Linked DNA regions of Homo sapiens: regions 2 and 3 are each linked to region 1. The links are contacts of gene promoters, found by promoter capture Hi-C in blood cells and fetal thymus (Javierre and others, 2016). All regions are on one chromosome and are shown on one strand. The core of a region is centred on a gene start or on the middle of the fragment in contact, and the rest is flanking DNA. Distances in the headings are between cores, read along the strand shown.

What was found. Contacts are between HindIII fragments. The CHiCAGO score rates a contact against its expected background, and 5 or more counts as called.
Region 2: a fragment that was not itself captured here is called in contact with the fragment with the promoter of DDIT4 in region 1 in 3 of 17 cell types (non-activated CD4 T cells, total CD4 T cells and total CD8 T cells); the score reaches 5.9 in non-activated CD4 T cells.
Region 3: a contact is called between a fragment that was not itself captured here and the fragment with the promoter of DDIT4 in region 1, in 5 of 17 cell types (total CD4 T cells, naive CD8 T cells, total CD8 T cells and 2 more). The highest score is 8.7, in total CD4 T cells.

What each region holds. Positions count from the first base shown.
Region 1 is chr10:72,272,661-72,275,360 of GRCh38, forward strand. It overlaps DDIT4 (DNA damage inducible transcript 4), which reads left to right and starts at 1,264. Exons shown (of 3, transcript NM_019058.4): 1 at 1,264-1,400; 2 at 1,497-1,761; 3 at 2,035-2,700. The coding sequence starts at 1,557. The coding sequence ends at 2,528. DDIT4-AS1 (DDIT4 antisense RNA 1) reads right to left here and starts at 1,051. Exons shown (of 2, transcript NR_186445.1): 1 at 190-1,051. RefSeq lists enhancers at 1-284, 285-808, 1,519-1,638. The HindIII fragment of the contact is 3,971 bases long and covers 832-2,700 here.
Region 2 is chr10:72,119,718-72,122,417 of GRCh38, forward strand. The region is part of intron 9 of ASCC1 (activating signal cointegrator 1 complex subunit 1); the gene reads right to left. Among named protein-coding and RNA genes, the nearest start is that of SPOCK2, 33 kb to the left of the region's middle. The HindIII fragment of the contact is 3,620 bases long and covers 1-2,700 here.
Region 3 is chr10:72,061,613-72,064,312 of GRCh38, forward strand. It overlaps SPOCK2 (SPARC (osteonectin), cwcv and kazal like domains proteoglycan 2), which reads right to left. Exons shown (of 11, transcript NM_001244950.2): 9 at 2,566-2,628; 10 at 1,413-1,550; 11 at 1-1,293. The coding sequence ends at 1,148. Among named protein-coding and RNA genes, the nearest start is that of SPOCK2, 26 kb to the right of the region's middle. The HindIII fragment of the contact is 6,001 bases long and covers 1-2,700 here.

The DNA of each region.
Region 1 (2,700 bases), core at 14-2,513:
TGTCATTTGTCACGCGAAAGCAAGCCTGACCCGAGGCAAGGCCCGCCTATCTGGTTAGGTTCCTTGCCCGCCCCCGGGGCCCTGGGCATCTGATGTAAGTTTGGCTCCCTCTTCCATCAGGGTCCTCCTGTCCCAGACTGATAAACCTTTAGAGCAATAAAGGTCGAGTCCGTCTCAACCTCCACCCACCCTCAGCAACCACTGTTAGCCTCTGAGCACTGCTGCCAGGCCAGATTTCCTGTGGCCCCGCCTGAATGATGAAACACGGGATGGCCATTGCACTCCCTGGCTTTTCCAGAGATCTCGGTCCTCGGTCCTGATGCAACCGTCTGGATCTTTTACACAAAGCGCTAGGCGAGCGCTGGGTGCTAGGACCCGGGGGGCGCCCGGGCAGGGAGGTCCGGCTGCGCTGCCTGCAGTCCGCGGGGAGGGCGGATGGGTCTGTGAGTCCGACTGCTGTGAATCCTCGCTTCCATCCCTGCACTGGGCGCTATGAACCCGGGCCCATCCACACTCCTCTAACCACTCTCCTCAAGCCCTCTCCTTGGGAGCAGTTGGAAGTGGAAGCAGATAGGGTTTGGGAGGAGGCAGGGATCCCCATTAACCTATGTCCTGGGCTGTAGAGTAACAGCCAGGATGGGCAGGTGGGGCCTTGGGGAAGGGGCAGCATGGTGCCCGGAGCTTCCCAGTCTGTGGACCCCACCCCCATATCCCGAGCCTTTGCAAAGCAGGGATAGAGGGGGTAAGGGCGCGAGGGCAGGCCGGGCTAACGTCTGCTCCTGCGCCGCCGTCCCACGGGCATCCCCCCCGTGTGTGCCCAGTTGTTCCCGAAGCTTTAGGATCCAAGACGCTGGGGGCAACCATTTTCCTTGCCCGCCGCCCCCTCACGCTTCCCTGCCTCTCCTCCTAGCCTGGTCACGGGCTGTCCCCTCCTCCAGCAATGCAACCCTATAATAAACAAGTCTTTCCTTGATCCTCCCCTGCCGCGAGCGCCCTCGGGGACCTTGGCAGCTGCAGCCGCCGCGGATCCTTTCCAGAAAGGGGGCGTGGCGGTGGGTCGGGGTTCGACTGCGAGCTTTCTGGGGCTCAATGGAGGCGGGGCCCGGCCGCTGTCACCGGGCAGGAGAGAACGTTGCTTACGTGCGCCCGGAGTCCATTGGCCAAGGCGGGCCACACTCCCGGGTCTGGATTGGGTCGTGGCGCAGAGAAGGCGTGGCCTCGCCGCGCTAGTCCTTATAGGCTGCTCCGCGCTGGTGCTAGGGCGCAGCAGGCCAAGGGGGAGGTGCGAGCGTGGACCTGGGACGGGTCTGGGCGGCTCTCGGTGGTTGGCACGGGTTCGCACACCCATTCAAGCGGCAGGACGCACTTGTCTTAGCAGTTCTCGCTGACCGCGCTAGCTGGTGAGTGTCCCTTCTGTGTGTGGGTCCTAGAGCTCGCGGTCTGGTCTGGTCTGGTCCCCAGACTGACGCCTGGTCGGTCCCCCTCTTGTCTTACAGCGGCTTCTACGCTCCGGCACTCTGAGTTCATCAGCAAACGCCCTGGCGTCTGTCCTCACCATGCCTAGCCTTTGGGACCGCTTCTCGTCGTCGTCCACCTCCTCTTCGCCCTCGTCCTTGCCCCGAACTCCCACCCCAGATCGGCCGCCGCGCTCAGCCTGGGGGTCGGCGACCCGGGAGGAGGGGTTTGACCGCTCCACGAGCCTGGAGAGCTCGGACTGCGAGTCCCTGGACAGCAGCAACAGTGGCTTCGGGCCGGAGGAAGGTGAGCGGTGGGCGGGTGCCGACGCGACTCGAGGGGCCGGGAAGGTGGGGAAGCCCCGGTGCTGGAAGGGGTCAGAGCCGCCTTGGCTTCCTATCCCATCGGGACCCAGATTGCTTGGGGGCAGGGGGAATTGGAGTATAAGGTGAGTGAGGCGGAAACTGAGGCACGGAGTGGGAAGGAGCGTTGGTTTCTTAAGGAAACAGCACCTCCCCCGCCTGTGCGTTTCGTTTTGAAGCCGCTCTAATACCCCTTCCTGTGTGCTCTCCTTTCCAGACACGGCTTACCTGGATGGGGTGTCGTTGCCCGACTTCGAGCTGCTCAGTGACCCTGAGGATGAACACTTGTGTGCCAACCTGATGCAGCTGCTGCAGGAGAGCCTGGCCCAGGCGCGGCTGGGCTCTCGACGCCCTGCGCGCCTGCTGATGCCTAGCCAGTTGGTAAGCCAGGTGGGCAAAGAACTACTGCGCCTGGCCTACAGCGAGCCGTGCGGCCTGCGGGGGGCGCTGCTGGACGTCTGCGTGGAGCAGGGCAAGAGCTGCCACAGCGTGGGCCAGCTGGCACTCGACCCCAGCCTGGTGCCCACCTTCCAGCTGACCCTCGTGCTGCGCCTGGACTCACGACTCTGGCCCAAGATCCAGGGGCTGTTTAGCTCCGCCAACTCTCCCTTCCTCCCTGGCTTCAGCCAGTCCCTGACGCTGAGCACTGGCTTCCGAGTCATCAAGAAGAAGCTGTACAGCTCGGAACAGCTGCTCATTGAGGAGTGTTGAACTTCAACCTGAGGGGGCCGACAGTGCCCTCCAAGACAGAGACGACTGAACTTTTGGGGTGGAGACTAGAGGCAGGAGCTGAGGGACTGATTCCTGTGGTTGGAAAACTGAGGCAGCCACCTAAGGTGGAGGTGGGGGAATAGTGTTTCCCAGGAAGCTCATTGAGTTGTGT
Region 2 (2,700 bases), core at 190-2,689, 150 kb before region 1:
GGAAAAAAAAAAAACCAACACAACACAATTTGAAGAGACAGGGCAAACATCAGAACCAGAGTCAGAAATGGCAGGCGTGCTGGAATTATCATACTGGGAACAACTATGATTAATATGCTAAGGACTCCAATGGATAAAGGAGACAACATGCAAGGACAGATGGATAATGCAGGCAGAGAGATGGAAATTCTAAGAAAGAATCAAAGAGAAATACTAGTGATTAAAAGCACTGTAACAGGCTGGGTGCAGTGGCTCACGCCTGTAATCCCAGCACTTTTGGAGGCCGAGGCAGGCGGATCACCTGAGGTCAGGAGTTTAAGACTGGCCTGGCCAACATGGTGAAATCCCATCTCTACAAAAATTAGCCAGATATGATGGCGGGTGCCTGTAATCCCAGATACTCGGGAGGCTGAGGCGAGAGAATTGACTGAACCCAGGAGGCGGAGGTTGCAGTGAGCCGAGACTGCACCACTGCACTCCAGCCTGGGCGACAGAGTGAGACTCCATCTCAAATAAATAAATAAGTAAATAAATAAATAATAAAAATACTGTAACAAAAATAAAGAATGCCTTTGATGGGCTCATTAGCAGACTGGACATGGCTGAGAAAGAATCTCTGAGCTTGAGGATATGACAACAGAAACTTCCCAAACTGAAAAGCAGAGAACAAAGACTGAAAAAACACAACAGAATATCCAAGAACTGTGGTACAACTACGAAAGATATAAGGTGCACACAATGCAAATACCAGGAGAAGAAAAAAAGGAATGGAAACAATATTTGAAGGAATAAAGACTGAGAATTTTCCTAAATTAATGTCAGATTCCAAACCACAGATCTAGGAAGCTCAGAGAGTACCAAGCAGAATAAAGACCAAAAAAAAAAAAAAAATTGTACCTAGGCATATCATAGTCACACTTCTGAAAACCAAAGATAAAGAAAAAATCGTGAAAGAAGCCGAAGGGAAAAAACAAATACTTTTCCTATATAGAAGCCAAGATAAGAATTACATTTGACTTTTCCTCAGAAACCATGCAATCAAAAAGAGAGTGGAGTGAAATACTGTTGAGAGAAAGAAACTCCATCAACCTGGAATTCTGAACCCTGTGAAATTATCCTTCAAAAAATGAGGGAGAAACAAGTATAAGCGATATGCTAAGAAAGAAGAGAAAAAGAAATTATATATAATGCTCAAATAAACCAAAAAAGGCAGAAAAAGTGTGGGAGGCAAAAATAGAAACAAAGAACAAGGGCAACAAATACAAAACAGTAACATATATAATAAACATTAATCCAACTATATTAATCAATAATCACTTTAAACATCAATGGTCTAAATACACCAATTAAGAGACAGAGAGTGTTAAATTAAAATAATAATAATAAAGCAGCCAAACAATATATTGTCTATAAGAGACCGACTTTTTATTTATTCATTTATTTTGCGACAGGGTCTTGCTCTGTCACACAGGCTGGAGTGCAATGGTGCAATCATAGCTCACTGTAGCCTCAACCTCCCAGGCACAAGCGATCCTCCCACCTCAGCCTCCAAAGTAGCTGGGACTACAGGCGTGCACCACCATGCCCAGCTAATTTTTTTAATTTTTTGTAGAGACAGGGTCCCACTGTGTTGCTTATGCTGGTCTTGAACTCCTGGCCTCAAGTGATCCTCCCACATGGGCCTCCCAAAGCGCTGGGACTACAGGCATGAGGCATTGTACCCAGCCAAGAGACTCACTTTAAATATAAAGACACACAGAGATTAAAAATAAAGGGATGTCCCAGCATAGATGGGTTCTTAAAAAAAAAAAAAAGAAAAGTAAATAAAGGGATGAAGAAAGATATACCATTCTAACACTAACTGAAAGAAAGTTGAGTAGCTATATTAATTTCAGATGGAGCAAACTTCAGAGCAAGGAAAGTTATTATGAATAAAGAGGAGCAATACATAATGATAAAAAGATCAACTGTCCAAGAAGACCTAACAATCCTTAACACATATGTGCCTAAAAACAGTGTCAAAATACATGAGGCAAAAGTTGACAGAAGCAAGAAGAAACAATGAACTCACTATTATAGTTGGAGACTTTAACTAACCCCATGTATCAGAAATGGACAGATCCAGAAGGCATAAAATCAGTGAGGATATAGTAGAACTCAACAGCACTACCAACTGACTGGATATAATTGACATCTATAGAATATTTTATCCAACAACAGCAGATTACATGTTCTTCTCAGGCTCACAGGAAACACTGACTAAAACAGATCACATTCTGGGCCATAAAATACGCTGTAATAAATTTAAAAGAATAGAATCATACAGTGTCTGCTCTCAGGCCACAATGAAATTAAACTTGAAAGTGATAACAAAGATAGCAGGAAAATCCCAAAATAGGTGGAAATTAAACCACACACTTCAGCCAGGCGCAGCGGCTCACGCCTGTAATCCCAACACTTTGGGATGCCAAGGTGGGCGGATCACAACATCAGGAGTTCAAGACCATCCTGGCCAACATGGTGAAACCCCATCTCTACTGAAAATACAAAAAGTAGCTGGGTGTGGTGGCACATGCTTGTAGTCCCAGCTACGTGGGAGGCTGAGGCATGAGAATTGCTTGAACCTGCAGGGGCGGAGGTTGCAGTGAGCCAAAATCGTGCCACTGCACTCCAGCCTGGGCAACAGAACCAGACGCAGTC
Region 3 (2,700 bases), core at 109-2,608, 210 kb before region 1:
CCCCTTAGCCTAGACCCAGGCTCCTTGCCTGCTGCTCCTGGCCCTCAGGCGCCCTCAAGTGGATGAGGGGACCCCAGCAAGGGGGATGGAGGCAGGAGTTGCACCAAGGGGGAGCCAGGCAGAGGTCAACTGTGTAACCACCACCCAGTGTCCCCAAGAGAGCAGCCCAGATCATGGCTCCACCACGAGACCCAGAGAAAAGGGACAGGCTATTCCAGGGTCTAGGATTCAGAGCTGCCCCATCTCAACACCTAAAAGCTCCCCCAGGCTCTGCAGCCACAGCCTCCTCCTGCTGAGCCGACCCCCTCTCCTCACCCTGTTCTACCTGCACCACCTGGGCCACCTGGGACAGACCTCAGACAGCTTGGCGAGGCACCCTGTCCCTGGCCTCTCAGCTGCTGCCCTCCTCCTCTGCCGCCACCACCTTCATTCTCCGCCTTGGGTTAGGAGAGCTTCTCTAGTGTTTGGGGATCCGGCAAAGGGACAGGGCTTGCTGTGGCTGGGCGTCCTGGCCCGTCTCATCTGAGGCTGGTGGGGATGTCACACCACATCGGCCCAGTTTTGGGAGGACCTCAGCTGGTAGACAGCTCCCTGCCCCTCCCTCCCCTTTGCAATGGGGACAGGCTCGCAGGCCAGAGCTTGACCTCAGAAGCAAGAGGGAGAAGGGCAGACAGGGGTCGGTTGAGCCAGGGTAGAAACCAAGGGGAGCCAGGGTAGAAACCAAGGGGTCAGGGCTGGGCTGGAGGACACGGCTGGGGGATCTCATTTCATGGATTTTGACCTGTCAATTTGTATTTGTGTGTGAATGTATTTTAAAACCAACAACAAAAGGAAAGAAAACAGCTACAAGGAGGCCGAAGGGGCCTTTGGGTGACTCACTCTGCCAGGAGCAGTGTGGATCAAGGACACATTTGTCAGCGCATGCCACACACACACACACATACACACATGCATGCACACATGCACTCACACTGTCACCCGTCCCAGCCATCTGTGCCACACACATGCCATGCACACTCACACTCCCAGTCCCCCCAGGTGGAGCAGGGTCCTTCTGACTGCATTTCTGGATCCGTTCTCGAAGTTGCCTGCTGCTGCTCAGAGCTCTGCTGTTGAGTCCCCCCCGGCAGCCGGCTCCTGAGGGCGTCTACCAGATGTAGCCCCCGTCGTCAGCCTCGCCTGCCTCGCCCTCCTCCTCCTCGGCCTCCTCGCCTGCTTCCTCCGTCTCCTTCTCCTCCTCATCCTCCCAGCCGACACCGCTTCCAAAGTCCCCCGAGAAGCCCACGATGTCATCTGTGAGGGGATCAAGCCAACAGGGGGTGAGGGAGCTTCTGGCACGCACCCCCCAGCATCCCACGACAAGGGCCCCCAGGCCTGGGCCCCCAGCAGGCCCTGAGCTGCCCAGCCCGTACCGCAGTCGGGGCTCCCATGCGTGCGCGTGCCAGTCAGCTCCAGGCCCAGCTGGTCCACACACCAGCAGTCACCGCTGCTCTGGTCACACTGCATCTTCCGGTAGTAGCCATCCTCGTCGCAGCTCGGGATGAAGATGCCTGAATGAGACAGTGCCAGGCAGGGTCAGAGCAGGGGCCCAGGCTGTGGGCCCCTCAGAGAGGTGACCTCAGGTCCTCATGCATGAGCAGAAGTCTATACACCCCCAGAGCCCAGCCAGACCGGGTGCTGACCCCCCAACAGGCCCAGATGCTGAGAGCTGGACACCAGCCAGCAATTCTTTCGGCTCTACTCGCTGGAGATGAGGAAACCCGCTTCCTTGAACCACTGCTCAGGCCCCTGTGCTAGCTCCCAGCCGCCCCATCAGTTTCCCTGACTCCATGGCCCAAGTCTTCTAGGACAGCCAGTCTGACTTCACCAGGTTTGACACTCTCCATCCTCCCACAGTTCCGCCGGCCTGGCTGTCCCCTGCTAGGAAGGCCCAGCCTTCTCCTCCCAGCCACTCTGAGTCCGACCTGCCTCCGGGGCCCACTTGCTTTCCTGCAGGCTCCCCAGCTGAAGCTCCCAGGCGCCTGTGTACAGGTCACACTGCTAGTTCTGTCTTTTTAGTGTGTCCATTTGTGTGTTGTGTGTTTCCGGACTGGCCCGAGCTAAAGGGTTATGAGGCCAGGGAGTGCATCCTTCTTGCCATCCGCTCAGAGTTGGGCTGGGTCTATTGCTGTTGTATCTCTGGGGCCGGCCCCCAGGTGTTTATGGAGCATGTGAGTGAGTGTCACTCAGGGAGTGGCCTCACTAAAACATTAGTCACACCCTTGCTGAAGGAAACTGAACTCAGTGGAGGGTTCCAGGATCCTTCTGTATCCCAAACTCTAGCTCCAGCATGGATGGGCATAAAATTAGTGCCTAAAACACACTTTTCCCGGGGCAGATTGGGAGTCCCTGCCCCACCACAAGGATAGACACAGGAAGGGGGCAACCCTCTTCTGTCTTCCTAGGCCAGGGCCTCCTCTGGGCTCCATGTCTGCCATGAGGCCCAAGGCTGGAGGCCCTGGGTCTCAGACAAACCCAGGAAGCCGTCCCCACCTCCTCCTCTGAGAGCCTGGTCTGGCCCCTCACCTGGCTTCTTCTTGGCGGCCTCCTGGATCTGGATGCGCTCCAGCTCTGCCAGGCAGGGGGGCTCTGTGGGGAGAGAAGCAGCCTCTGATGGGACTGTCCCCTGGTGCTGGGGGGATGCACTGAGCCCTTCAAGGC